Regions from separate parts of the Homo sapiens genome. Here regions 2, 3, 4 and 5 are each linked to region 1. Evidence: promoter capture Hi-C in 16 types of primary human blood cells and fetal thymus (Javierre and others, 2016). All regions are on one chromosome and are shown on one strand. Each heading gives the region's core, a stretch centred on a gene start or on the middle of the fragment in contact. The rest is flanking DNA. Distances are from core to core; before and after follow the strand shown.

Evidence for each region. The method cuts DNA at HindIII sites, captures the fragments that hold promoters and counts their contacts. A CHiCAGO score of 5 or more calls a contact.
Region 2: a contact is called between a fragment that was not itself captured here and the fragment with the promoter of CCKAR in region 1, in 1 of 17 cell types (total CD8 T cells). The highest score is 5.4, in total CD8 T cells.
Region 3: a fragment that was not itself captured here is called in contact with the fragment with the promoter of CCKAR in region 1 in 7 of 17 cell types (total B cells, naive CD4 T cells, naive B cells and 4 more); the score reaches 7.7 in total B cells.
Region 4: a contact is called between a fragment that was not itself captured here and the fragment with the promoter of CCKAR in region 1, in 1 of 17 cell types (neutrophils). The highest score is 6.6, in neutrophils.
Region 5: a contact is called between a fragment that was not itself captured here and the fragment with the promoter of CCKAR in region 1, in 6 of 17 cell types (naive CD4 T cells, total B cells, total CD8 T cells and 3 more). The highest score is 6.5, in naive CD4 T cells.

The regions. Positions count from the first base shown.
Region 1 is chr4:26,486,916-26,492,930 of GRCh38, forward strand. It overlaps CCKAR (cholecystokinin A receptor), which reads right to left and starts at 3,569. Exons shown (of 5, transcript NM_000730.3): 1 at 3,241-3,569; 2 at 2,318-2,569. The coding sequence starts at 3,352. The HindIII fragment of the contact is 9,380 bases long and covers 105-6,015 here.
Region 2 is chr4:27,064,915-27,070,929 of GRCh38, forward strand. No RefSeq gene overlaps it. Among named protein-coding and RNA genes, the nearest start is that of LINC02261, 150 kb to the right of the region's middle. The HindIII fragment of the contact is 783 bases long and covers 2,784-3,566 here.
Region 3 is chr4:27,028,211-27,034,225 of GRCh38, forward strand. No RefSeq gene overlaps it. Among named protein-coding and RNA genes, the nearest start is that of STIM2, 170 kb to the left of the region's middle. The HindIII fragment of the contact is 5,613 bases long and covers 1-5,461 here.
Region 4 is chr4:25,965,887-25,971,901 of GRCh38, forward strand. No RefSeq gene overlaps it. Among named protein-coding and RNA genes, the nearest start is that of SMIM20, 55 kb to the left of the region's middle. The HindIII fragment of the contact is 8,839 bases long and covers 1-6,015 here.
Region 5 is chr4:27,000,332-27,006,346 of GRCh38, forward strand. STIM2 (stromal interaction molecule 2) reads left to right here. Exons shown (of 12, transcript NM_020860.4): 6 at 1,886-2,063; 7 at 2,596-2,773. Among named protein-coding and RNA genes, the nearest start is that of STIM2, 140 kb to the left of the region's middle. RefSeq lists a silencer at 606-665. The HindIII fragment of the contact is 1,969 bases long and covers 2,359-4,327 here.

The DNA of each region.
Region 1 (6,015 bases), core at 2,319-4,818:
AAATAAAATAAAATAAATCATGTACTTCTTGGTCTTAGATGGCCTATGGAAAAAAAATTAAAATAAAAAATGAACAAAATCATGTGCTTCGGCATTGCCCAAAAAGCTTAACTTCCATTATTTTTGTATTTGTATATGCATACTTATTAAAATGTCCTATTATTCCCTTAAAATTCCCTGTAGAGTCCTTCTGCTATAAATTCTGTCAATTCTTCTGAATATCTCTTACCAAGATTTCTTAAACCTCAGAATTAATATAAATTTGGGAGCAGAGGTCCTGAAACTGGGGTCCTTAGATTCTCCTTATTCTTATGGATATAAACTAATTCTCTGAAACTATATCCAAAAATGTCATTTTTCTAGGGAGCCTAGCTCTAGCTTTCCTTAGAGTCTTAAAAAAGTCTATGACCCCCAAACCATTAACTAAAAACTCATGTTCTGGGGATAGGATTTGCTGTGTTTTACTGGATTTTACTCTAAAGAGTTGATGACATTTAGAGTGAAGAGTACGGCCCAAAAATCTCTAAGACTCAGTTCTGCATAATGGATCATCAATAACTATAAACTCACTGGCAGGCAAGCATTCTTTTTCTTTTTGCTACAAATTAGGAGCTAATGAATGTTAATTATTAGTATTGAGGAGACTGCAAAATTAAGAGAAGAGCCTAAATTATTGGAATTAAAAATCCAACAAAATTATTATGGTATTGCAAATACTTTCAGAATGATGTTGCTTTTCTTTTGCCCAATAAAATATTTTTTATGCAGTTGAAATTTACATAACATAAAATTAACCTCATTTCAAACTGAACAACTCTGTGGCACTCACAATGTTTTGCCACCATGAAAACACTCATTTAAAATCTCGGTTCACATTCTCTGGTTAAGGTTCCCAAATAGTATTACCATAAGATATATATGGATGGGCCTCGGATGTCTACAGTGCTAGTTATTATTATTGCTTCATTATTTAACAACGATCTTTTTCCTTTGTAAGTTTTGTCTTTTTTTTTTTTTTCAGAGGACTTGGACATGGATTGACACATTCTTGGTTTTTGGTGGCACGAGGGTCAGTAATTCACCATCATTTTGTCAGTGTGGAATCCCACTTCCTCAACTGGGAAAAATGAGGACTTATAAGGCTTTCTGGTCATTGAAGACTGCCCTAGCCTAACTCAGTTCTGCATATTCTGCAAGGCTTGGGTCAGAACAAAAAATAACTCCCTTCTTATTTCCCATCTCTGCCCTTCTCCCAACTAATTCTCAGAAAGGGCAAGGGACTAGGCAATCTGGCACCCAGAGGGGACCAAGAAATGTGTTTTTTTGTTCAACTTTAAGAGAACCACAGCAGTTGGCAAACTGAGGTATCATGCTCACCATTGTGTGGCTACAAATCTGGACTCAAATCTCAGCTCTGTTGCTTACCATCTGTGTGGTTCTAGGCACATTATGGACCTCTCTGTGCCTCTGTTTCCTCCTTAGGGAGACAAGGAAGAATCATTGCATTTACTTCATAGAGTGGTTGGGAGATAAGGTAAGATCATGGAAGGCAAAGCACTTAGTACCACATGGGGTGCATAAAAGCGCTAAAAAAATTTAGCTCTTATGATTTTCATTATCATCATTTTTGTTTGGCATAGGCAAAGAGCTATATATCTCAGCCAATCAGGGTCAGCTTAGCGACCCCATAGCCCCCAGGAGCAAATTCAACTCCTCATCTAGGGGCAGAGACCTCTCTCTCTCTCTCTTTCTGCCAGAGATGGCCCCAGCTTTGGGGAGAACAGGCTGGGAAGTGAATCCTGAGAAGAGAATCTGAAACTGCGATAGAACTGGTTTTCAAATAGCCCCTGTTCCCTAAGAAAACAAAAGAAACAACTGCAAAGAACCCTCCTCCATCATCCTCACCCTCCCTAGAAGCCAGGACTCAAGTTGTGTATAGATCAGGACACAGTCAACAGCTTCCAGAAAGGGATAGAGCAGCTTAAAGTCACTTCTGACTTCAAACAGAAGCAAGCAAGTCCCTCTTCCCTTCAAATAGAAGCAAGCAAAATCAACTGCCCCTGTGTTTTCCTATCAATTTATTTCACTCTTAGAAACTGACCTCCAACATGGATGATGGGGACCGACTTGTGGGGAACGTATAAGGATGACTGTCAAGCCAGCACCAATGTCCGTGCACACAGCCATGCACAGCCTGATGTTCTGTGATTCAGCCCTCAGCAGGGCTCCTTTGCTGTGATTGTCAGAGGTTTGGGAAGGTCTGGGGCTGAGTGGGGTCTGGGGCAAGCTCCAGAAAGAGTCACCAGCAGCAACTTACCCATGAAGTAGGTGGTGGTCTTGCAAACGGCGCTCCCGAAGATGAAATCCTTGAGCAGATTGGGGATGAGGTTGAACGGCATGCAGAAGAGACAGAGCATGAGGTCGCTGACAGCCAGGGAGAGGAGGAAGATGTTGGTGACCGTCCGCATCCGCTTGTTCCGAATCAGCACGGTGATGACCAGCGTGTTTCCCAGCACGCTGAGCAGGAATATCAAGGAGTACAAGAGAATCTGCACCGCTGGCTGCCACTCTGCAGAGAGAAACAGGAGCAAGACGGAGGGATGGAGGTGATGACAGCAGAATGCTAAAACCGAAGCCAAGGGTGAATTCCTGCCGATTTTCCCCCCACCGGGGTGTACATCACTGGACCCACGATTCCTGTCCTGGCAACATTTTGCGGAAACAAATTGAGGAAAGCAGAGACTGAATTATTTTCTTTTTAGAAGGTTGGTTTGTTAAAGGATCACTCAGGGAACCACTTTTTCTTAAGAACAAAGCTCCTCAAGTGAACAGTGATCACTTTCTTTCCTGGCTGCTAAGCATTATTTCACTTTAATCACTTCATGCTGGGTTTCCCCCCAAGAAAAGAAAACAGCTGCATGGTGACAACACCTTTTCTGCTGTGCTTGTAAGTTCAGGCTTTGACACTTGTAGTCCCTCTTGCTTCACTCAGCTTTTCCTCCCCTGCTTTTGTTCCCCCAAGTCCTATTCATGAATGCCCAACTCCCCCATGGGGGACAATAAGAATATTTGACTCTATTCTGCTTTTTAATCTCTTCTCCAAACTTCTGAACATATGACTTTATCTAGCCTTGTCTCACAATGACTTGGTTATATATATTTTTTATCAGCCTTGCCTTTGCTGATTTCTCCCACAACTCAATAGTTTCCTGAATTAAAATAACAGCTTCCGACACTTACCTTTGGAAGGACGGGGCTGATCCAAGCAGAAAAGCGTCTCATTTTCGAGCCCGAGTTCACAGGGAGGAGTGATGTTGCTTCCATTCACAAGAAGGCTGTCAACCACATCCATCCTTGCCTGCTGCTTTCCACCAAGTGCTGGAGAGCTGGTGAATTGCTCACTCCCGGCTCATTCCTCTAATGACCGAAGCGTCTCGCAGATGCAACCTGCCGTGGAGGAGCAGGGAGGGAGTGATTTCCAGGTGTGGGCTTTTTCAGCCATTCCTAAAGGCGACTTGAGTTCACCTCACTCACTCCAGCATTTGTACTCCTGTTGTGGAAAAGGCAGTGAGCACAAGCCAAGCCCGCTCCACCTTCACCCCGCCCCACCTCCCCCGGCCCTTTCCTGGGCCAGTCTTAGGGCCCTGAGTACAGACAGCCTGGCTACCCGTTAACCATTCTCAGCGTGTGGCTGCTTTTTACACACATGTGTACATATGCACGGACACACACACACACACAGAGGCTTCCCCAGTACTCCTCTATATAGGAACCCGTCACCATCCCAGACATATGCAGAAGAAAGCCCAAACCGGCTGTGTGAGACAGGAACAATTAACACGGTAACAGATCCGATAATGCAGACCATCAGGCCTAAAGAACACGGAGGGACTGTGTTCTACCTCCTTATAGAAAAGCAATTAGTGCCTTTTTAGCTTTGGAACCATGCCCGGTGGTGTGTGTGTGGACAGAACTGCTGGCTGGTTGTTAAGTTGCTACTAAACACAGTGTTGTTTCTCGTGGTCTCTGCCCTTGTTAACTAGGATTGAGGCACTTTTGAACATAGGTACCTGGGTCCTTATTACAAAAGACGTTAGTGAGATTTCCTCTTCATTCATGAAGCCTTGCATTCAGCACATCTTCATTGAGAGTCAATCATTTGCCAGGCACTTTTCTAGCATGTCAGCAAATAATGAGCAGAATTATTTCAGGTAGTAAGTACTACAAAGGGAGTAAAGCAGGGAGATGTGATGTATACAAACAGATTAGGGGCTGATTTTTTGGGGGGCGGGGACAGGGTCTTGCTCTGTTCCCCAGGCTGCAGTGGAGTGGCGCGATCATGGCTCACTGCAGCCTTGCTCCCTGGCTCAAGCAATCCTCCTACCTTAGCCTCCTGAGTAGCTGGGACTACAGGCACACACCACTAAGCCCAGCTGATTTTTTTAGTTTTAGAAGAGAGGAGGTCTCGCTATGTTGCCCAGGCTGGTCTCAAGCTCCTGAGCTCAAGCAATCCTCCTGCCTTGGCCTCCCAGTGTTGGCATTACAGGCGTGAGCCACTGCACCTGGCCTGGGGCTGCTGATTTAGAAGGGGTAGTCAGGAGAGGTCTCTTAAGGAGGGGACTGTGATCTGAGACTGAACCACAAGAAGGACAAAGTCTTGTGAAGATCCCAAGACAGCTTCTCCCAGGCAAAAGGAGGAGCACTTTTAGCAGAGGTAACAGCAAGTGCAAAGGCCCTGAGGTGGGAATGAGTGTGGCCCCATTGAGGTACAAATAGATAGAAGTAGGAGTGAGTGAGAGGCAAACAGCAGGACGTGAGATCAGAGAGGGGGGCCATCTCAGGGTCCTGGGTGTTCCATGAAGCTCTGTGGTGCTGGAAAGCCCTTCAACCTCCATTGCACAGATTATGTCCTCAGTTCAGACCCTTTGGAAAGCAGACGACAATGGCTGTGAAACCTGCGTTTCTGACGCCCTGCTTGGCTGTGCTGAGACTTGGTCCATTTGCTAGATACCCGTGGGGCTCCTTGTGTACTGACAATGCTTCCACTGGCAGAGCTGCATGCTACATCTTGCTGAGTCTCTGCCAGACACAGAGGAACTAACGCATTTTTACTGTCAGTGTGGGGCTGGAAAGACAGTGGTGCCTCTTTTCTTTGAAACCATGAAGACCACATGGTTTGGGGCATTTAGTCACAGAAACAAGAAGGGGAAGGGACACTGGAGAAGCTGTGGATGTTATTGGGAGGACAGGCTTTGGCATCAGACAGACTTGGGATCAAATCCTGGCTTCACTGGTTACCTGCTAGGAAATACTGGGCAAATTAGTTTCCTTCCTTCCTTCCTTCCTTCCTTCCTTCCTTCCTTCCTTCCTTCCTTCCTTCCTTCCTTTCCTTTCCTTTCTTCCCTCCCTTCCTCCTTTCTTTCTCTCTCTCTTTCTTTCCTTTCTTCCCTCCCTCCCTCCTTTCTTTTTCTCTTTCTTTCTTTCTCTCTTTCTTTCTTTCTTTCTTTCCCTTCCTTCCTTCCTTCCTTTCCTTTCTTCCCTCCCTTCCTCCTTTCTTTCTCTCTCTCTTTCTTTCCTTTCTTCCCTCCCTCCCTCCTTTCTTTTTCTTTCTTTCTCTCTTTCTTTCTTTCTTTTCCTTCCTTCCTTCCTTCCTTCCTTCCTTCCTTCCTTCCTTCCTTCCTTCCTTTCCTTTCTTCCCTCCCTTCCTCCTTTCTTTCTCTCTCTCTTTCTTTCCTTTCTTCCCTCCCTCCCTCCTTTCTTTTTCTCTTTCTTTCTTTCTCTCTTTCTTTCTTTCTTTCTTTTCCTTCCTTCCTTCCTTTCCTTTCTTCCCTCCCTTCCTCCTTTCTTTCTCTCTCTCTTTCTTTCCTTTCTTCCCTCCATCCCTCCTTTCTTTTTCTCTTTCTTTCTTTCTTTCTCTCTTTCTTTCTTTCTTTCTTTTCCTTCCTTCCTTCCATCCATCCTTCCTTCCTTCCTTCCTTCTTTCTTCTTTCTTTCTTTTTTTTTTTTTTTCTGAGA
Region 2 (6,015 bases), core at 1,925-4,424, 580 kb after region 1:
ATTCTGTGCTCATTGGGAACCATGAACATTGTATGCAAACGTACTACCAAGGAACAGAGGCAGATACGCATATTTCATGTGTTTCCTGGGCTCTTGTGCATGCTCTACTGTCTCTTTGGACTTCACTTATAAAACCCAAGTTCAGGCCAGGCGCAGTGGCTCACACCTGTAATGCCAGCACTTTGGGAGGCCGAGGCGGGTGGATCCCCTGAGGTCAGGAGTTCAAGACCAGCCTGGCCAACATGGTGAAACCCTGTCTCAACTAAAAACACAAAAATTAGCCAGGCATGGTGGCAGGTGCCTGTGGCAGGAGAATCGCTTGAACCCGGGAGGTGGAAGTTGCAGTGAGCCAAGACTGTACCATTGCACTCCAGCCTGGGCAACAAGAGCGAAACTCTGTCTCAAAACAAAAAACAAAAAACAAACAAACAAAACTCCAAAATCCAAAACCAAAACACAATAAAAAACACCAAGTTCAAAGATAAAATTATGAAGATTGTAAGATAGCAATAATTGAGTATTAAACCAAGTATGGGGATCTTCTGAGCCTGGAGCCCTGTGCAACTTGCCTGGGTGGCTGTATGGCAGATACACCTGACAGCAATAACTCAATCATACCCTGAGAATGACCCTATGGTCTCGGAAGAATGTGTATTCAGAGCTCTCAGCTAAGGAATCCAGGAGTGGCCAACCCAGAAACTCACTCCTTATTTATAAGGCCATCTGAACCCCTAGGGCCCATCCCTTGGAACACATGCTGGACAGGGGATTGAGGCTCTTTGTTCTGGGTTAAATAGAAGTTGCCAGGTGGAGGTTCCTAAGTGAAAATGCCACATAACTTGTATGTTTTTTACAAACAAGAGCAGTTTTCCTGTCCAGCTCGCTGGTCCTGGACTGCACTGTTTATACCCTATATCTCGTTTGCCAGCTCCAGGTCTCTTCCTTGGCCTCTTGGACACGGTGCCATCCCTGCTGGCATCAACAGGGGTCTGGCATGACAGTCGCATATACACAAAGCCAGCTCTGTCAAGAACTGGGGCTCAGATCTCTTACCTGAGCTTCATGTCTTGTTCTATGGTACCCTAGAAATGTGTTGGTGATCAAATCCAACCATTGAAGACCTGGAATTCAGGGAGGGTAAGTGCCCATCCAGAGAGCCCAAGATGACAGGCAGGACTGGAATCCAGGTTTCCAGATCCGTGGCCCACTGCTTACTGTACCGTATCACTTTGCCACCTGCTTAGGCAGCAACCCCATTTGCTAAGAGTTAGCTCAGCATGAATGCCCCACTGCATGGAGAATCTTTGATGCTGCAGGACACTCAGATGTGTGTACGCTGAGGACAGACCTGCTCTGTTTTCTTATATGGAAATTGAAGCAAGTGATGTAATGGCTGCTGTTTCCCTTCTCTCATGAATCTTATGGCTGGGTTTAGGGCAATGAGGCAATGAGCAAAGCTGGGTTATTAGAAGGATGAGTTTTCCAGTTTACTACTCAGAGAAAAGCTTTGAACTTTTGGGGAAGCAAGGCGTCGGGGACCCAGAGGGTGGCTTTATCACATAGCAGGGGCACAATGCTTAGATCTGGCCCAAGGCAAATGGTCCAGTGATGGAATTGGTTTTTAGGATTGCTCTGACATTCCCTGGTGTCCTTCCTGTATCAGTCAACTTATGCTATGTAACAACCACCCCAGAACTTGGTGGCTTAAAACAAGGGCCATCCATTTAGCTCCTGACTCTGCGGGTAATTTGGACTGTGCTCCAGCGTGTCTGGTCCATCTTGTTCAAGCATTTGTGGCTAGAGGCTGGGGCTTGCTGGCTTAGGAAGGATCAGGGTGGTTTTTGACTGCAGTTTCCCCATGAGGTCTTACTCAACTTCCAGCGGCTAGCCTGGCCTTGTTCCCAGGGTGATAGCAGGGTTTCAAGCCCTGCAAAAAGGGAAGCTGTCAGACCTGTTGGGACCTAGGATTGGAACTTGTCCAGTGTCCCTTCTGTCATACTCAATTGCTCAAAGCAGGTCACAAGGACATCTCAGATTCAAGGGGTGGGTAGACTTCACTTCTTTTTGGGAGGGGCTCTGAAGCATTGTGGCCATCTGCAATCTACCAGTGCCTTCCACCCAGGCCTACTAAGAGTACCTGTCCTTGGTCTCACCCATTTTTTTTTGTCTTCTCCCTGTTATTCCAGGGCTCTTTATTCAGGATTTTTTTTTATGGGAGAGATCCAGCTTATTTTAGAAATAATTCGTGCCAGGTAATAGATAATAGAAGTGAGAGTACTAAAGGGTTACTTTAAGACATTCCTGGTAGTAGAAGTTCTGGGCTTTTAAAAACTCTGTGACTTAATTCAAGTCTGTCTTTTTTTTTTTTTTTTTTTTTTTTTTTGAGACTGGGTCTTGATCTGTCACCCAGGCTGGAGTACAATGGCACTATCTTGGCTCACTGCAACCTCTGCTTCCCAGGCTCAAGAGATTCTCCTCCCTCAGCCTCCCGAGTAGCTGGGACAACAGGCATGGGCCACCGTGCCCGGCTAATTTTCTTTTGTAGAGATGGGGTTTTGCCATATTGCCCAGGCTGGTCTTGAACTCCTGAACTCAAATCAATCTGCCCACGTCGGCTTCCCAAAGTGCTGGGATTACCACACCCAGTCATCAAGTCTGTCTTAAATTCTCACTATCATGAAAATTATCTTGGGAGCTTGTTGAAAATATAGATTCCCAGATTCCATCACAGATGTACTAATTCTGTATTTTCTGGAAGAAGCCTGGGCTTCTGTGTATTTTCAAGCTTCCTGGCCATCAGGCCATCAGCTTCCTGTGTTAGTTTGTAAGGATGATGCCTATCCTTATTCAGACCCCTTGAAGTTTACAGGTGCAGTCACCCTTATAATTGCTCATGGACTCACTTCCTGGATGGCTCTTTTGATTAGCTGGGATTTGGAAACACAGGCTTATCTCGAAAGTATAAGAAGCAACCCCACAAGCAGACAGGGGAGGTGTTTGATTCTTGAGGCTCCTGGAGGAACGGACCGTGTTCTATTTATTTCTCTGTTCCCACGGAGCCGGAGAGCTATCATCAGATTTGAGGTGCTTACCATGAATTAATTGGAGCTGTGGTCCTCACAGGGTGGCTCATGTTCCAGTAGCATCTGCTTTCCTGGGAACAAGCTAGAAATGCAAATTATTGGACCTCACCCCAAGCCCTTTGGATTAGACATGAGATGCACATGGGAGGGGGAACTCAGGGCTGGGGAACCTGATAACCATTTGCACACACACAAACGCGAAGGGACCACCCCGCCCTTGCTGGAATGAACATGTTCCAACCAGCTCAACCTGCTTGCCCTTTGGGAGAGTCTACCTGTGGCCGCTGAGATCTTTGAGCAAGGCTGCCCTGCGACCCTTGTCACCTGCGCTAACACACTCCACAATTCTTGCTTCTGAACTCTGGACAGGGCAGCTGGCCCTGCTTATCAGTCAAGGTCTCCGCGCCAATAGCAAAATGATGGTTCCTGCTGGGTGAATAGAGCTTTTAAGTTGGTGTCAAGATTTTTCCTCCTTGCGTGAAAAGCTTAAAAAACTCCTTGCCTTAGGTGGAGTGCTAAGGGCATAGGAATTAAAAGGGAATTGGCGTGAGGGGTCACCATTGCTGCAGAGTTTCAGGCACACACTTAATTATTAAAGTGCATACACACGACATGCACATACACACCCCGCACAGCTGGGGCAACAAGTTCCTTGTTCTTTGAAGCCAAGTTCCACTTCACTGTGGTTTCCTGGAAAGCTCTTAGCAAAGAAGGGCATGGCAGGTCCTTGTCATCCAGACTGGGCACAGGAGTTTTTGTTCCCTGGGCCAGAAGGCCAACGAGAGAGGAGGGATGTGTAAGAAGAGAAAAGAGCTTGGCCTGGACATTCCAGCCCTGGATATGTCACAAATCTTGGAGCGAGTTGCTTCATGTCCCTGACACTCAGCTCCTTCTCTGTGAAATGGAACATATATCCAGATTATACCTTCCCCTAAAACATTTTGGAAGATGCTTATAATTTGAGTACTTGTCAAGTAGAAGTTAGAAATATATAAACAGAAATGAGGAGTTTCTTAGGAGAATTGAACAGAGATTAATGGCAGGGAACTGGATTAGAAAATCTGTACATTAAATTAGATCCTGAGACCTTGGACATCCTGGGAAGGCCTGGAAGAGGTGGACCCGAAAGTTCTTTCTTGCCCAATCAGGTTAAAGAAAAAATGGGAAGAGAGTGAATTGAGGGTGCCGGTGGGGCTTGGGCTAGCCCATGATGACAGAGGGGAAACATGGAGTCACAATAAAACTCCTCCCCTCCAATCCCCATTCTTTCCTGCTATTCATCTGACTCTGAGATTCCCTGAAGTCCCCCTATATGGTGGCTTTGCTTGGCTTTTGTTGGGGGATGCTGCAGTTAAGCATGAGAGAATTCAGACTCCCCTCCTGAATTCTCACTAGTGAGCTCAGGGCATGTTTCACTGCTACGCTGGCGTTGTACTGGTGAATGCAATTCTGCTTATTTATGGGGTAGGTTTTCAGATGGGGCTTCAAATGGGAAACGAATCTTTCAACTTGAAGAAGTACAAAATGACCTACTCTTTGCTTACTGTGCAAATGAAAAGGTGAGGGATGCTCTTAATGGGTTAAACAGTAAAGAAGCCAGAGTGGTGGAGACTTGCTGGAAGAGGCTGAATGGGAACAGGGGTGCCTCCACATTCTAGTCTGTGCCAAAGGCCATGCCTGGACAAGACAACTGTGAAGGGGAAGGACAAGGCGTGGGGTGGGGAGTTTTTCTACCAGATAGCAAGACCGAGGTGAAGCTGGAGTACAGATGAAGAGTGTTGGCGCAGGTAACTAGGTCACTGGCACAGGAGGGAGAGGCCAGACACAATTCCATGCACGCGTGGTGAGCATTACAGAGCGGTGGGAAACTGGGCATTTATCAATAATATGTTTTTATTTCTTGGCAATTGGTTATTAATATGGAGAATAATCAAATGAGATTCCTAACATGTGGCCTAAAGACCTAATTATGGAAAGACTTAAATATGAAACTTTAAATACAGTTATAAGAAAATAGAACATCTTTGTAAACATAATGTTGAAAAGAATTTCATAGTATTCCAAACTTGCAAACCACAGCGAAAATGGAAAAATTTGATTTGCATTAAAACAAAACGTGGTTGTCAAAAGTTACCTTTAAGAAAATAAAAAGATAACTCACAGGAAGAAATAAAGAATTAATATCTAGAATACATAAACAACTTCTTTTATTTATTTATTTATTTATTTTATTTTATTTTATTTTTTTATTATACTTTAAGTTTTAGGGTACATGTGCACATTGTGCAGGTTAGTTACATATGTATACATGTGCCATGCTGGTGCGCTGCACCCACTAACTCGTCATCTAGCATTAGGTATATCTCCCAATGCTACCCCTCCCCCCTCCCCCCACCCCACCACAGTCCCCAGCGTGTGATATTCCCCTTCCTGTGTCCATGTGATCTCATTGTTCAATTCCCACCTATGAGTGAGAATATGCAGTGTTTGGTTTTTTGTTCTTGCGATAGTTTACTGAGAATAATGATTTCCAATTTCATCCATGTCCCTACAAAGGACATGAACTCATCATTTTTCATGGCTGCATAGTATTCCATGGTGTATATGTGCCACATTTTCTTAATCCAGTCTATCATTGTTGGACATTTGGGTTGGTTCCAAGTCTTTGCTATTGTGAATAATGCCGCAATAAACATACATGTGCATGTGTCTTTATAGCAGCATGATTTATAGTCCTTTGAGTATATACCCAGTAATGGGATGGCTGGGTCAAATGGTATTTCTAGTTCTAGATCCCTGAGGAATCGCCACACTGACTTCCACAATGGTTGAACTAGTTTACAGTCCCACCAACAGTGTAAAAGTGTTCCTATTTCTCCACATCCTCTCCAGCACCTGTTGTTTCCTGACTTTTTAATGATTGCCACTCTAA
Region 3 (6,015 bases), core at 1,405-3,904, 540 kb after region 1:
ACCTGTAAATAGGCCTGGGCATGAGACCTTGGGAAGGAGAGAGGAGGGGAAGGGTACATTTGTTGTCAACTCACCAAATCTTGTCCATTTCGTTCCCCGAATATCTCAGTGAATTCCCCGCTTCTCTACTGCCCTGGGGCTTTGTTTCTCCATTTCTCATATTATTCACTTCAAAAAGCAAACTGAACCCAGCCTCACCACCCGCTTCATCCTTTCATTGGTGAGCTCTCTAAGTTGCACAGTGGATTTTCTCTGGATACAATTTTTCTATGCCTTTTGTTGCCTGTGGGATAAAATATAAACTTAACCAAGACTAGCAAAGGCCCTTGATGTTCTGTACCCTGCTTACTCCTCTGGCCTCATGGCTTTTGTGGACATAACCTAATCAGTCACACAGAACTTCATGCAATTTCTGAAGTAAGGCAAGCTGCTGCTTTTGCCTGGAACGTCCCCTTCCATCTTAGGCAACTAACGCTAAACCTTTAACTCTGATATCTCTAGGAAGCCTTCCATGCATGCCCCCAACCTGGGTGAGATACCATTTCTGTGATGTGCAGAATTTTTCTTTCCACGCCCCCCCTCTTTTTTTTTTTTTTTTTTTTTTTTTTTTGAGACAGGGTCTTACTCTTGCCTAGGCTGGAGTGCAATGGTGCAATCATGAAACACTGTCCCCTCAACTTCCCTGGGTGCTCAGGAGATCCTCACACCTTGGTCTCCGAGTAGCTGGGACTTCAGGTGTGCACCATCACACCAGGCTTCTTTTATTATTATTATTGGTTTTTTTTTTTTTTTTTTTTTTTTTCTGAGACAGATTCTCTTTCCCCCAAGCTGGAGTGCAGTGGCGCGATCTTGGCTCACTGCAACCTCCGCCTCCAAGGCTCAAGCGATTCTCGTGCCTCAGCCTCCCAAGTAGCTGGGACGACAGGCACGCACCACCATGCCCAGCTATTTTTATTTATTTTTTTTTTTTTGTATTTTAGTAGAGACGGGGTTCACCCTGTTGCCCAAGGTGGTCTCGAACTCCTGAACTCAGGCGATCCGCCCACCTCGGCCTCCCAAAGTGCTGGGATTACAGGCGTGAGCCACCGCACCCAGTCCCCCGGCTTCTTTTGTATTTCTTTTTTGTAGAGATGTTTCTCCATGCTGTCCAGGCTAGTCTTGAATTCCTGTGCTGAAGCCATTAGATATGCAGAATTTTCTGTATTTATTGCGGCACTTGACACATCGTATTGCAATGACCTGTTTACTTGTTTGCCCAACAGACTGAATTACATAAGAGCAGAGACTTTGCTTTGTGTAGCTTCGAACTCCCAAGAACTGGCACTTTAGGCACTGAATACATTGCATGCCTGATGAGTGAATAAATGAACAACAGACAGTATTGCTGCCTTCCACCTCCAGGTTGGTAAAGGCCATTGCAAATGGAATGACCAGAAAACAGTTCAAGAGTATTATCCAATACAAGTGAGTGTTATTTTCACTTGTATATACTCTATTTTCATTGTCTTACAGGAGGATTCCAAGAAAAGAGGAGATCAAAGTGGCATAAAGTGACCAGTATGTCCAGTATGTTTTCTTGGAGAAATATATTTTTAGAGCTGAACACTGAAGGATGAGTGATATCTGAATAGACTCAATAGGAGGAACACATTCTTTCAGGTTTTTGCTTAGTAAAGAGATTTAGCCTATCCACTCTTGGTCTCTACCACCTCTCCTGCACTCAGCATTTAATGGCTATACTACATATCTGATAATTAATGTGATTTCTTACATTATTCAATCTTATTTTAATAATTATTGAATAGTGAGAGAATACAATGTGCTGTGTGCAGGGCAAACAATACAAGAAGCACAGCCCTTTCCTACTTTGTTGAACAAATTCACAAGTAATTAAATTACCATGCTTGTTATTAGTGCTATGAAAAAAGGGTTCACAGGGCTGTGAGACTACTTAAAGGGGGCCTAACTTAACTTGAAGGCAGGGACAGGCTTTGCTGAAGAAGTGGCTTTTTTGCTAAAGAGAGAAGAGTGGAAAGCACAACTTTGACCTCAGGGTTTTTGACAGTATCGCATTCAGCTGCAAGTCACAGAAAACTAAGCAGACTTACCCATCCTGAATTGCCTGATGGCCCAAGGTAACCGCTGACATCACATTCATATGGCAGGAAGAAGAAGGGCAAAGGCAGGATGGTGTGTGCCAGTGATGCTACTCCCTTGTAAAGAGCTTTTTGCGAAGCCTCACCCGACAGCCTCACTTTTCAGCTTGTTGGCCAGAACTGAGATGCCATGTAGTCATCGTCAGCTACAGAAGCTGATAAATATAGCAGGTTAGCACTGATTCATTGCTTGACTGATTGTATGCTTCTGCCCTCAAACACAATTGGGGTTCTACTGATAAGAAAGAAGGAGGGAGTGGGTTTTGAGTAGAGTTAGAAATGTATGCCACAGGCACAAGCCGAGTTCTCATGTTTAGCTTTACCTGGGAACTCTGCTCTTCAGGACAAGTGTGTGTGCGTGTGCATGTATGCACGTGCGTGTGCATGTGTGTGAATGCAGGGGTGTCAATGGACACTTGCTTGGCCTTGAGATAAATTTTAAAATATTTGCGTTTCTATCATGGGCCAGAAATCTTTCTAGATGCCAGGAGTATAGCAGTAAACAAAACAGAAAAAAGCCCCTCACCCTTGGGGCTTACATGCTAGTGGTGCAGACAGTAATCAAACAAAATATGCAATATGTTAGACGAAGGTAATAGGGAGTGCCCAGGTAGTGATGGTGGAGATGGTGGGTCTCAGTTTTAACTTGGGTGGTCAGAGAAGACCTGTGTTAAGTAGATGGTGGCATCTGAGTAATGAGATGAAGGAAGTGAGTGACAGTCATGGAAATAGCTAGAAAAGAACATCCCAGGCAGAGATGGAACAGTCAGGAGCAACAGGTACAAAGGCTTTGGGTTTCCTTTGTATTCCTGGTGTATGTTTGTTTAATGGATTCTCAATTTTTAAAAACATTATGTCTTCCTGTGGACATGGGTACAGTTTTACTACGTGTAGAAGGGAACCTCTGTAGTGGTACCTAGGGCTTTCCTCCCCCTTTGGAAAAAACAAAGTGTCTGAATGCTCATCTTGATAAATCGTTAAGTGCCTTTTCCCACTTCTCTCCCTCTCCTGAATCCTGTTTCCTTATTTTGGGGGGATTATGTGCTGTAGTAATTATGAAAATAGACTTCGGAGTCTGATAGTTCTCAGCATGAGACCCCTGGCGTTTCTTACCTATGACATGGGACAAATAACTTACCTCTCAGAGCCTGTTTTCTTATGGATGAAGTAGGGATGCTAATAATGCTGCTTCACTATTGCTGTGGGTATTACATGAGATGATGCCTGAGAAAGGCTTACCACAGTGCTGGGTCCCTCTCAAGTGTGTCCTTTGCAAGTAAGTCCACTGAACCCTTCTCCCCCTCCCTGTGATCTTCAGCCCTGTGTCACATGGAGTGTCTTGGGGGTAGGTCAAATGCTGATTCTATGAAAAAAGCACCTCTTAACTCCTTACCAGTGTGTGAGAGCTCCATGTCACACTGATGTTCTTCAATGAAGTCGTATTTCCCAGCCTGTTCCGGCATCCCATCCCAAAGTCTTTTCAGAGGTTGAGATAAGACCTTTGTATTACTTGAGTGACAGACACCAATGATGCTCACATGGAAATCTTGTCATCTTCTGGAACTGTCTACCTGTGGACTCATTATACCCAACCTCTTCCTGTGCCTTTTTGGCCAAAACTGCCTACTCTTCCAGGGGGCCACTCCTTTGCTTCCACTTCTTTTCAGCCTTGTCATGGATCCTACCTTTTTTTTTTTTTTTTTTTTTTTGAGACAGATTCTCTCTCTGTTGCCCAGGCCGGAGTGCAGTGGCCGGATCTCGGCTCACTGCAAGCTCCGCCTCCCAGGTTCACACCATTCTCCTGCCTCAGCCTCCCAAGTAGCTGGGACTACAGGCGCCTGCCACCATGCCTGGCTAATTTTTTGTAATTTTTAATAGAGACGGGGTTTCACCGTGTTAGCCAGGATGGTCTCGATCTCCTGACCTCGTGATCTGCCTCGTGATTACAGGCGTGAGCCACTGCGCCCGGCCTCATGGATCCTACCCACGTTTTCTGTGTCCATTTTCCATACACTGGCTTTCCTTCCTATGTTGACCTACCTCAATCCCACAGCACATCACTGCAATCATCCCAACTTTTCCCACACATCCCTGATTTCCCGTCACAGATGAGTACAGCCAACTCTCTTTTTACCCGTACTCCCCGGTTTTTCCAATAAGATCCCTTTCCTGTTTCCATCAGTGAATATTCAAATCCATATGATCTCTTCACATCGGGTGCTGCACCGCCCAATCCTGACTCTCAGTAAGACTGCTCATTTGGTATGAACGTCTTCAAATTCTTGCCCTTAACTTACAAAATTGTGTGTGTGTGTGTGTGTATACACATACAGCCAGCCTTTCTTCCTTTCTTCACTATCAGAGGAAAAGTTATTTTTGTAACCAAGAGTCATCCAGACATTCATGTTTTGAATTTTTTGCCCTCCTGCTCTTTCTGGGATTTGATTCATTAATTGTCTCATCTTTACTGTTTCTCTAACATCTCTCTTTCCATGGCTTTTTTTCACATTATGAAATAAGCTCAAATCTTTATCTTAAAAGAAAAAAATTCTTTACTCTCTTGCTTTCATATCTCATCCAAGCATCTAGGAAGATAGCCAATGATTATATATCTAAGTTGTTTTTTTTTTAAGGGAAGTGATGTCAAAGAATCATTAAACTCATTAATGAAAGGGCCAGCAGCGTGGTAAAGCTGAATTAAAGAAAACCTAAAGGACTGGGCATATAAAGTCATTGGAATAAGATAGTTTAATTACATACAAAATAAACCATAACCTTATAATATTTTTGTTTGCATCTCTCCAGGGATGAGTTTCATTTTCCTTCCTATTGAACAAGAATAACTTATATTTCTATCAGCTTTCTTTCCAATCAATATCCACCCTTACAAAGTTGAAAAATATCCTAAATAGTAAATAGCAAGTCAAATAAAGGCATACACTCCTAGAGAATCAGAACTCTGGGCAGGCCTACTATGCAATGTTCAACACAACACTAAAAGGACATGTAAAAATCTCTTTTGCTTAATTCCAGGTTTTGGACACTGTTTTTTTTTTTTAGGAAAATAAAAAGTTTATTTAATCTAGATAAAAGATAGCTATGGAGCTACTCAGTAAAATGTTCAAATGTGTACCAATGTGGACAGGAGAAAGGTGAGTTGCTGCCACTGCTGCTGATTTTGCACGTCAGTTTCCAGGAAGATCTTAGAAGAAAGTACAGGCGACTCTAGGTCAGAGACCACTAAATGGAAATTCTTCCAAAAGATGAAAAGATGACATGAGGTAAGGGAGAAGGATGGCCTCATAAGCTTCTTTCCAGTTCAAAATTCTCTGAGATGAAGCAACTTGCAAGTTGTTTTATGACTGAAATGTAGAGTTGAGGAGCCACTCCATGAATCCTAGCAGCCAGCCAAAGTCCACTGCTCAATAAAGGAAATCTGAATTCAGACCAACACAGCCACTTAGAGAAAACCGTTTCCCCACCTGACATCCATGTCTGTCCATACTCCAAATTTGGAGGGGGCAGGTGTTAGGCTTCTATGTCAATTTCTTTTTGAAATATATTTTTTATTTCAGTGGGTTTTGGGAGAACAGGTGGTGTTTGGTTACATGTATAAGTTCTTTAGTGGTGATTTCAGAAATTTTGGTGCACCCACCCCCCGAGCCGTGTACACTGTACCCAATTTGCAGTCTTTTATCCTCCTCCACCGCCACACTTCCCTCTGAGTCCCTGTAGTCCATTAAATCATTCTTGTGCCTTTGCATCCTCATGCCTTTGCATCCTCATAGCTTAGCTCCTACTTAAAAGTGAGAACATAGGCTGTTTGGTTTTCCATTCCTAATTACTTCACTTAGAATAA
Region 4 (6,015 bases), core at 1,374-3,873, 520 kb before region 1:
GTACCTGGGATTCAAGTTGCGAGGTGGAAAGCATATACTAGCAGGATTCTTGCTCTGGCTTTGTGGAGGGTGCCTGTTTCCCTTTCTTTTTTTTCTTTTTTTTCTTTTTTTTTTTTGGTGCTTTTCACCCAATAAACTCTGCCCTCCTCACCCTTCAAATTGTCTGTGAGCCAAATTTTTTGTGACCGTGTGACAAGGACCCCCATCTTTAGCTGAACTAAGGAAAGAGTCCTACAACAAAATTACCACAAACTGGGTGGCTTAAAATGACAAAAATGTATTCTCTCAGTCCTGGAAGCTAAAAGGCTGGAATCAAGATGTCAGCAGGGCCATGCTCCCTTGGAAGAATCTAAGGAAACATCCTTCCTTGCCTCTTCCTACCTTCTGGTGACTGCTGGCAATCCTTGTCATTCCTTGGCTTACAATTGCATCACTCCAATTGCTGCTTCTGTGGTCACAAGGCCTTATTCCTGTAGGTGTGTCTGTGTGTCTCCAAATCTTCCTCTTAATCCTTATTAGGATGCGAGTCTTGTTAGATTTAGAGCCCATCCTAATCCAGTATGATCTCATCTTCACTTGATTACATCTGCAAAGACTTTATTTCCAAATAAGGTCACATTCTGACGTTCCAAGAAGATGTATATTTGAGGGACACGCTATTCAACTCACTATTCAACAAATGGTTTATACAATGTTCTGCTGAACAAAGAGTAGTTCTCTCCCTAAAAACTCCTCCTATAGCTCTTAAGATAAATTATATATATTTGCCCCTCACCACAGTAACTCTTTAATCTTAGGCCTATTGGGTTTGTCTCTCCAGTTATTCTTTTTTTTTTTTTTTTTGAGACAGAGTCTCCCTCTGTCACCCAGGCTGGAGTGCAGTGGTGCAATCTCAGCTCACTGCAACCTCTGCCTCCCAGGTTCAAGTGATTCTCCTGCCTCAGCCTCCTGAGTAGCTGGGATTACAGGCACGCGCCACCACGCTTGGCTAATTTTTGTATTTTTAGTAGAGACGGGGTTTCACCATATTGGTCAGGCTGGTCTCGAACTCCTAACCTCATGATCCGCCCACCTCACCCTCTCAAAGTGCTGGGATTACAGGCATTAGCCACCACGCCCGGCCTTTCTCCAGTTATTCTTAAGTGGCATTAGCTGGGTATTGGTGCATGAGAACTCTTTGCATTCCCATAGTGCCTAGTCAGTGCTATGTACATAGCAGGTGCTTAGCAAATATAAGAAAAGAAACTTTTGATATGATGTTTGCTCAGTGCTCTGGTGGGAAAGTATCTCTAAGAACTGATGATTACCTTTCCAGGGATTTTGCTCTTTATAGTTCCCATGGACAACCTTCTGTGGGTCCTCAGTAATCACTGAATACAGTTAACACTCAGCTCAATATGTAAAGCCCTTCACCACCAGTGCGGGGGCCTCCCTAGTCTCACCTCTCTTTTAGCCTTTGCTGTCTCTGTCCGTGCTCCAAGCCACCAGACTCTTTCCTAGCCCAGAGCTTTTGCTTGGCTATACCTCCTGCCTGACTGGGTCTCACTTCCTATATCCCCCAGCCTTCCCTCTTGCTAAACATTTACTCATCCCTCAAGACCTGATCCAAAAGCCACTCCTTCCGTGAAGCCTTCTTGAATTCCCATAAGCTGAATTCATGTGTTCTGCCTTAATGCTCCCCACCATGTCAACACAGCTCCATTTTAACATTTGCCGCATTCTGAGGAAATTCTTAATGTATGTGTCCGCTTCCTTCCAGACTGAGATGTCTCTTAGGTATAGTGTCTAGCATAGTGTAAACTCAATGATGTTTGTCCAATGAAGCCATAATGGTGGAGTTGATGATAAACAGACATAGGAGTTTTCTGGGTCTTCTTAACCCATGCCTGGGAAGCTGTTGTAGAATTTCTTAGCATGGTCATTGGGTATTAGGGGAGGGAATGTTAGGGGTCTATATGAGAATCTAAAATCTGTATTAAGAATCCGTCAATGCCTATAATCCCAGCACTTTGGGAGGCCGAGGCAGGAAGACTGCTTGAGTCCAGGAGTTCAAGACCAGCCTGGGCAACAGAGCAAGACCTCAACTCTATTTAAAAAAAAAAGAATCAATCCAAGGTGACAATCTTTTATGGCTTGTGACCCTAGATAATATAGAACAGTTCTTTCCCTGTGGGAGGCTGGGGAGGGTGTGGAGTCCTAGGGAAGAGGGGTGCCTCTTCCCAGGTTCTTCATCTTAGTTGGGGTCCCTCCACTTGGCTCAAGTCTTGGGGACATACTGTATGAAGCTGAAGAACCAAGAAGCTGTAAAAAAGAAAGTGCTCAGGGGCTAGCACTCTCTCACCATCTCAAATGGACTGTAGGATCCATCTATCTGTGTATGGGTCCTCTCTCTTGATGAGGCAGACATTTCCAGAGCCTCATCTGTATTCCTCAGAGCTTTCCGTGTGCTTCTGATCATTGCAGCTGCCAGTATATCTGCATCTCTGTGTCTAGGGAATTTTTTCCTGGAGCCGTGGAAGGCAGCTCTTTCCACAAGCACAGGGTTTGAATTCCAGGGAATCAAGTGCTATGGGAGCAGTCCTCAACCAGACTCTCAGGAGTTGCTATATAAATATCCTAACTCCCTCACCTCCTGGCTGGGGAGAGTTCTGAGGTATGCATATGACACAGTTTCCCCCTGGGTTAAGCTCCAGTCACTGCCTTCTGTGGCTGGCTCAGTAATGCACCACTTACTGGCTGCCTTCCCTTCCTGGTATCACTTCCCCAAGTCCTCTTCTGCAGTTTCCTGAGACCACTTCCCAAATAAACCACTTGCACGGAAATTGTTGTCTCAGAGTCTGCTCCTGAGGGAACTCAAATGAAGAAACGGGGCCACCCTGGTCTCTTTCACTTTTGTTCTGTGCTCTTCTTGTTACCATTTGACTTATCCTTTCCTCTAATCTCTATATCCTTTTAAAAAATCTCAGCCGGGCGTGGTGGCTCATGCCTGTAATCCCAGCACTTTGGGAGGCCCAGGCGGGTGGATCACCTGAGGTCAGGAGTATCAGCCTGGCCAATACGGTGAAACCCCGTTTCTACTAAAAATACAAAAATTAGCCGGGCATGGTGGCATGTGCCTGTAATCCCAGCTACTCGAGAGGCTGAGGCAAGAGAATTGCTTGAACCGGGGAGGCAGAGCTTGCAGTGAGCTGAGATCCGCCCCTGCACTCCACTGAGATATCTCTTGGGTATAGTGTCTAGCATAGTGTAAACTCAATAATGGTTGTCCAATGAAGCCATAATGGTGGAGTTGATGTTAAACAGGCATAGGAGTTTTCTAGGTCTTCTTAACCCATGCCTGGGAAGCTGTTGTAGAATTTCTTAGCTCTGGGCAACAGAGCAAGATTCCGTCTGGAGGAAAAAAATCTCATATCTCTGCCTTTTTCATGCTTTTTATTTAGTCATTTTAGTAATTATTTCTACTGTTCCATGATGCACACCATCTGTATCTCCTCATGGCTCTCTGCTCCTGCTGTCTCTCCCTACAGCCCTTCATTTACTATTCCCACTGCTAACTGTCTGGCACTTGCCTAATTTCTCAGTTCAAATCCGCCAGGGATGAATTTAATGACCCGGCCATCTTTTTTTGCATAAGGCACAGGCTCCTGGGTGGATTGGCTGCACTCGGGTCAGCTGATCACCCCCTGTCCAATCAGAAGGGAGATGGGGCAGGAGCATAGCGGAAGGTTTAATGGCCGACCCCAAGGAGAAGAGTGGGGAAGCTGTAGCCTGTCTCCTATTCCTTCATATGGACAATTGACATTGTCTTAACTTTATTTTAAATATAACTTCAATTTCTCCTTTGCAATCAGATTGTCTTCTTAAGTCTCTCCAATACTGAAATTTCGAAGCTGCTATGGTTGTGCATAAATTAAGACTTGGCCGCCTAAGGACTGGACCCTCAGTAGAGCTGTGGGCAGGACCTTCCCCGGGAAAAGGAAGTGTCCGTGAGGCCAGTGTATTTGGCAGGTTAATACGCCAAGCATTCTGTGAAAAAAGTCTTTTTTGAATCATTACAAAACCTTGGAAAATACAGAAAAGCACAAAGGAAGAAAATAAAAGCCACAGGAAATCCCAGCACCCCGAGATAATCACTCCTTGAATTTTAGGGCCTTTTCTTGTGTGTGTGTGTGTGTGTGTGCGTGTGCGTGTGTGTGTCTACTTTAGAGGGAAATATTTCTTCCCCATAAAGAGGATTGTCCTACATATGCTGCTTTTTATAACCTGCATTTTTTTTAACCTACCACTGAACATTTTTCCGTGTCATTAAATATGCTTCTACCATCCTCATTTTGGTGTCAGCCTCGTCTTCCGATGCGGGGCTTCCTGCCTGGCTGAGCTGCCTTCTCAACCCTCCCCTCCCCAGGACACTCAGCTGTGAAAGGCGCTGATTTGCACAGGTGGATCTAATGAGCTCATCTCGCTTCCCCCTACACATTTCAGTTGATCCGAGGCCCAGGGCTGCCAAGTGGGGCCCGGGCTGTCTGTGGTAGTGGGAGCTTCCCCAACAGCCGTAGACTCTCCGGGGAAATCACCAGTCAGCTCTCTACAGCTTCCTCATTCCCCACATGCCATCTGCAGCTCAGGACACCGGAAACTCAAATCATCAAAAACCGGAGCTGGAAGCTCCCTTAGGAAGCTGCTCCAGCTCCTCCAGCCCCTCAAAAACCAGGCTGAGAGAGGGGAAGTGGCCCATCCACACTCAGCCAGGGAGTCGGTGGCAACGCCAAGACTCAAGTTGTGTGCCTTTAACCAAGCCCGGTCTCTTCTTGCCACCACCCCAATGCCTGTCAGGAGCTGGGGTTTTCCTTCTCCACCCATCAGCCCTGCAGGGTGAAGTCTCCATGGCATTCCTGAGCCCCAGGATGAGCCTGCCAACTTAATAGCCCTAGCCCAAGGCTTGACCTTGGGGAAGGTAACTGCCCCACCAGCCTCCTCTGGATCAAGTCCCAGTTTCACATCCCGGGACATGGTGCGGTTAGAACAGCTGCCTTTCTGACTCTCTGAGGTGGCTGAGTAAACATTCCCACAACATCAGGTCTTCCTGCCACTGGGGCCTATGTTGGTGAAGTGCGCTGGGCTTTGGAGACTGTCACTAGCCGCTGAGACTCTGCTTCAGACCTCCAGGCTCTCAGTCCATGGAGCAGATTCTGGTGGCTGGAGCAAGACCAGGAGTCTGGGACAGCCCTGCCCTTCCAGTGGGCAGTCACTTGGAGATGCCCTCAGGGCTAGCCTGGAGCCCACGTGAGGAGTCTGGTTACCAGGGGAACCTGAAGGAGACTTTGCCTCCATGGTGATTAAAGGAGTCAGGCCCAGAGTGTGCCTTGGGAAGCAGTTCTTCCAGCTGAGAGCCAGTTCACTCATTGTGAAATGGAAGGAGGATTATCCCAGTGCCCTATCTGCAGTTCTTAGGAGTCTCGGGCTCTGTGCCTGATTGCAAGAACCCTGGGGGCCTGGCAGTCAAGCAGCATGAAAGGAATTCCAAGGCCTCATTTCCCCCTTTTTACTGAGGCAATCTTGGCTGAGCCCCAGCCCCAGGGATGCCCCCATGGCACAGGCAGAGCTCCGGATGACCCCTTTTCTCATCCTGCCAGCCAGTGAAGTGTTTCCAGCTCTGCATCGCGGCAGGCCGCTTGTGCTTTATCTTCCTGGCATCTTTCTTCCATTTGGTGGGACAAGAGTCTTCTCCAAACATAAGTCCCTTAGCGCTTTTTCTGCATCTTAAAGAACACACTGCCTTGTTTCATCTTGAATCTACTTCCTTTCTCCTGCAGATTTTCTTAAGCAGCAAGCAGGACCAAACAATTCCCGGTGGTGGCTGTGTCTGCTAAGAACTAATGCCGTTTTATGTTAGACACTAGAGAAGGAGAGAATGTCATCCTGGAGAGTTGTCCTCATGGAAAAGATGGGGAGCAAACTCTCCTGTTTGATGCATGAGAACAGATTATTCTTATTCCCTTGGTGACTGAGAGCAAA
Region 5 (6,015 bases), core at 2,093-4,592, 510 kb after region 1:
GCACTGTTGGTGGAAATTACAAACCCTAGGAAATAGAACACTACTGAAATGCCGAGCGTTCCATAGAGATGATGCCCTTTCCAACCTTTTCCTTGTCCTCACTTCCAGACTGAATCCATTGGGGGATTGTCTTCTGTGGGATTCTGTCCAATTTTTCTCATGTGAGTGGTTGGTAAAAATAGGAATTAAAGTATAGAATTTGTTTCTATTTACAACTTGATCAGGAATACTCATATTTTATTAATCTTGGAACTAACCCCTTTCTAAGCCCCAAAAATTATATTACCAAGTCATTTGAAAAGAAATCAAACTAGTCTCAAAAAAGATTGTAAACAAATATTTAAATAAACCAATTAAAAAGTTAATGATTTTAAATATGTTTGTCTTAGAATGGTTGAGTGAATGTGCCCCATAGTCAGAACACTTATGTTAGATTTATTTTAAAAACCAGCATTGTCAAATGAACAGAGATACATTTTAAAGTTTTTTTTTTTTTAATCTTTTCCAGTCTGTGGTGCTTATTATTGAGTGTAGGACCTTATTTATCTATTTATTGTTATTTATGGTCAGAGAATAGGGCTCACAGTTGAAGGAGAACCTGAATTGAACATCTCAGTGTGAGGCAGAAATAAAAAATGCTTTTGAGATTGTAGCTTTCAGCAGTACATTTCTTCCCCTACAGGTGGAAGGGTGAAGGTGTACACTCTGGCAATGTGGAGAACTGAGAGTCTCTGACATAGAGCATGCTACATATCACACTACACAAACATAGCCAAACCCCAGACTTGTCAGCCTAGGAACTTCTGTAGAACTCTTTTATGTCACCAAACTTCAAAATATGTTTCTGCCGGAGGCCTGGGCATTTAGGCAGTTTTTCACTGTGAGCTGTATCTCTTTGGAGCATTAAAATAATATATTAGCTATCATTGTGTCTCTGTTCGAGAGAGCCCCGTGAAAATTAGTGTGTACTGACTGGGCTAAATCAGGAAATCTGAATAGTGATTTCTGTGTTTTGTATCACTGAAGGCAGTAGGCCCTGGCTCCTCACTCTTTGTTTTAGACATAAGGCTGGGGGTTAACATCATACCAGTAACCCCCATATCTCTGGCATATAGACACCTAAAACTGAATAATTGTTATTACTATTTAACCCAGGCTTTATCAGCCTTAGCACTAGTCACTCTTTGGGCTGGATAGTTTCTGGTTAAGTCTTTGTCATCCGCAGAGGGGACACAGGGAGGAGGTTGTCTTGCGCACTGTAGGGTGTTCAGCAATACTTCTGATGTCTGCCCACTAGGTGCCAGTAACCACTCCCCCAAGTTGAGACAACCCAAAATTGTCAAATGTCTGCTAGGGGTGGGTGAGGAATTATCACCAGCCTTGAGAACCACTGATTAACCTAACCTAATTAGTTATATAGCTGCCTCCTTGGGGAAAATACATTTTGGTGAGTGATCAGGTTTATAAGTGTGAGAGAAACGTGACAGCTGCCTAGCTTGACTGAAGGAAGGGAGTTGGGATGATGGTGGTGATACTTTTGATGACTCCCTTCACCCCACAGAGGACCATTCTGGCAGCATATGATTGGAGGTGCTGTTGCTTTTTCAAGGGTCCCCATGACTTTGACCACTCCTTCTCCCACCAGCAGGGGCGTGGTGTGTCTATATGGGTTTACCTCTGCCCTTCTATAAGTCTAGTATATCAAAGAGTTACAAGAAGCACAGTCATTATTTGAAGAAAGAATTTTAAAAGGCTAGAGCTTGTGCATGGGAAAGAGATCTCCAATTTTTGGTTTTGTTTTAGATACTACTTAAAAAATGTCTTTTTGTATTGAGGTCCTGTCATACTCAAAGATTAATTTAATCATCTGTAATTCTTTTAATAGGCCCACCTCATAACTGGATGAAAGATTTTATCCTCACAGTTTCTATAGTAATTGGTGTTGGAGGCTGCTGGTTTGCTTATACGCAGAATAAGACATCAAAAGAACATGTTGCAAAAATGATGAAAGATTTAGAGAGCTTACAAACTGCAGAGCAAAGTCTAATGGACTTACAGGAGAGGTAAGTTCAGAAAAATCATAACTCATTTATGTAGGCAAATACAATTTGTAAAAAAAGTGATATGGGCATGTGCTTAAATACTTACATTTAGGTTATTATACACATCAGGAATAGATGCATATTTGATTTCACATTTTTAGAAAAGTATACTTTTATAATTACAGATTTATTATAAATGTGTATACTTGAGAATAAATGAGTAGAAGAACAGTGGAGGTAAGTCAAATATAGTGGAATTAGATGTGTAGTTAAATTTTATTTTTAACTTGATTTAAATAATTAGGAATTTTTGAAAAGCTTTTTGCGGAAGAGTATTTCCCTGCTTTCCCTGTCATTTGAACCCAGGATAACCAAAATAGCTGTATAGTAAGTTGCCTGATATTTGTATTAACCAAACTTAAGGCTAATGAAAAATGCTATGATTTCTGATTGAAATATGTATTTAATCGCTTGACCCAGTATTCATTATTTTGTAAAAAAAAATAAAACTGGAAATTTTTGTGAGGAATTTTTATTTTTATTGTTCTATAAGGCTTGAAAAGGCACAGGAAGAAAACAGAAATGTTGCTGTAGAAAAGCAAAATTTAGAGCGCAAAATGATGGATGAAATCAATTATGCAAAGGAGGAGGCTTGTCGGCTGAGAGAGCTAAGGGAGGGAGCTGAATGTGAATTGAGTAGACGTCAGTATGCAGAACAGGAATTGGAACAGGTATTTACATTAAAAAAAAAATCACTTGTAAAGATGTTAACATTGCCACTCTGAGGAGCCAGGTCCTGTTTTTCTTCAGTTTCCTACATTTAGTTCCACTGTAGTTCCTCAGTTGATAAAAGACTCATTTGTTTATGTTGTTAGCATTGATCAAAGTTCATATAGCAAAATAACACAGTAGTAACTGAAAGATAGTTACCATCATGTTCACTCATTCATGAAATCTTACCTTGCCATCTTCACTGTCTTGAGTAAATTTAAGGTGTTTGTTTAACATCTGTAATATGTTTAAGTTTCTGACTATAATGTAGTAAGATATAAAGTATATCTAATTTTGAACTTCTCTGCAAAGGTAAAGGATCTCTATTAAACATCCATTTGAATCCTGTTAAATAGTTTTAGAACATAATCTGCTAAAAGTTCTGAAGCTCCTTTCCAATACCTGCTTCTCCTGTTCAGTTACTTAAGATAGAATATAGGCATTTAGGCATTGCACGGAGTCCTTTGGAGAAGGTGAGGTGCTGGCAGAATTTAATTATAGACAGATGCATTAGTTTCCTGTTCCTGCTGTAAAAAGAAAAAAAAAAGCCACAAACTTAGTGGTTTAAATAAACAGAAATTTATCATCGTAAAGTTCTGGAGGTCAGAGTGAGTTGAGGCGAGCCTGCAGGACTGTGTTCCCTCTGCAGGCTGTAGGGGAGGACGTGTTTCCTTGCCTTCTCCACTGGTAAAGGCCACCCACATTTCTCAGCTCATGCCCCTTCGTCTGTCTTGAAAGCCCATCATTCCAGCCTCTACTTCTGTGGTCTCATCTCCTCCTTCTGACTTTGATGCTTTCTTTACTGATAATGAAACTGAAGAACAAAATGAGGATTATAAAACTTGCTCAAAATTAGAGGTGACTCAGTTATAAAGCAGGGGCAAGAACTTAGGTGTTCTGCCTCCACTTTGTTTTATGCGCTGTTGCTGCCTTCTTAATAGAGTGCTAAATAAGAAATGCAAATTAAGTGATGAATGACATAAGGTCAACTCATGAGAATACATTACTGTTTCCTTCAAGATTGTCATTTTATGAGAATATGTCTGACTGAACACAGCCATCTTTTTTATAACTGTTAACCACTCCTTCTCTCACACCCCCAGATGTCTGTTTTTTGGAGCTCTTCCCTCTAAGGACTCTTAGATGTATTTTACAGTCATGCCTCATTCAACTAACAAACCATATCAGCACAGAATGTAGCAAAGAATCAGGGAGTTGACAAAAAAGGCCTAGTCGAAATCATACGGTATCCGAGAAGTGGGTACTATGCCCTTTGCACTCCTGTAAGAACTCCCTGCCTTTTTCCACCAAGACATCCAACTCTCGGTTTGTTCTGGTATATTTCTGTCTTTCTAAACTTTGTATATAAAAAAGAGCGAATCAGAAAACAGTAGTTTGGAATTCTTCTACAGAGATATAAACTGATGGTAGTACTTCACAGGTGCCTGCCTCACAGTGAGGGAGAAGAGACAATATAAAAAAAGGGCCCAAGAATTGTGGACATTCTAACTTGAAGCTTTGGGAGAGAGACCATGCACACCTCAGTAGACCCCGAAGTTACCAAAATGTGATGTATTGGTATTATTGGTATGAATAATCTCATTAGATCCTTGGTCAATAAAAGGCGGTTTAAAGGAAGGAAATTGGTATTTTAAAAAGAACACTGTCTGGCATGATCGTATTAATAAGAAACACAATTTTCTGAGGGCTTACTGTGTGCCAGAAGTGTATGCTACACACATTGCCAGTGGTTTGCTCATAAATTTTAATCCTCACAACACATAGGTATTATCTTCATTTACAAATGAGCTGTGTAGAGAGGCTAGATAACTTACTTGCCTTGGGTTACACAGCTATTAACTGGTAAAGGCAAGGTTTTGCGTGTCATATTCCAAAGTCTGTGTCTTCTTATACTGCTATTAAAAGCTTTGCTTGTAGAAATAAGTTTAACTGAGAAATGATGTATAATATGACATAACCCACAATTCCACGTAGTTCAAGGAATTACTGTATTTTGTCTGGAGAATAATCAACATAAATTTAGAAGTCAGGAAAATCTGGTATGTTTTTTATATAGTGTTATTTTTCCTAGAACAGAGACTTTGGGTGACTAATAGTACTGCTTTATGTTTTGTGTGATTTAAGTAGTTTTCACAAATTAATTTCTTAGAAAAAGTCTCAGGAAGCCTTTAATCAGGGCAAGTGATAATACCCCTATTATACGTGAGACAATAAGCCTTAGGAACTTACTGAAGGTTACAGAGATGAAAAATAATACAGTTGGGTCTAGAAAAGAAGTTTTCAGATGTTTAGGCTGTTTTTGTGACATCATGTTTTTACTTACTGTTGTTTTATTCCAAAGATACAAAAATCATGTAAATAATTATTACATTTTAAACAGTTATTTATTGTTTGCAAAAGCTGTTTATTACTCAATTTTTTCTGTGTTCATTCCCCTGTAAACAACAATGTGATTTAAACTAAGGGTTGGGATTTAGATCAAATGAAACATTCATGAGTAATAGCAGAGAAAACAGTTAAATAGTTGCCACTATTGGAAGGTCAGACTTTCCACAGGTTTGAGTCATTATTTGGCAATCAATCTGAACATTGTTCAGCTTCAATTTATGCTAAAAATATGTAAGTAGTTTTTATGTTAAATGTGTTTCCTTTGAGCTCTTTTAGGGGAAATACATTTATGGAAATATTAAGAAAAATCTATGATTAAAGAGAGTAACTTGAATGAATTTTGTTGAGATTCTCTGTATAATTCCTTGGAAGTGAAAATTGTATAGAAATTTTAGCTTTAAAATCTTCTGAGAAGAAGGGCTTGCGGACTTACATTTTGTGGTGTTATGCAGGTCTGCATGAACCTGAGCTTAAATTTTATCTCCCTGAGAGATTAGCAGGGACGCCACACAGCTTACCCAACTGACTTATTAAACACAGTATTGTCCCAAGCCATTGCAGTTAGTTATGTAGGCAGATGTTGCTCGGGATTTGTTTGCAGTGAGTTAGTGCTCTTCCCCTTACTTTAATGTGTCTTTTTGAACTGTCACCTAGTGTTGCATTGTGAATTTTGTTTTTAATTTTGGAATCTTAAAATATATTTTTCTACGTAATTCTTTGTTTTCACACTAACTGACAGCTGTTCTATTTCTTTATCAGAAGTTTGTGTATAGTACTCTTGTTGGTTTATTCT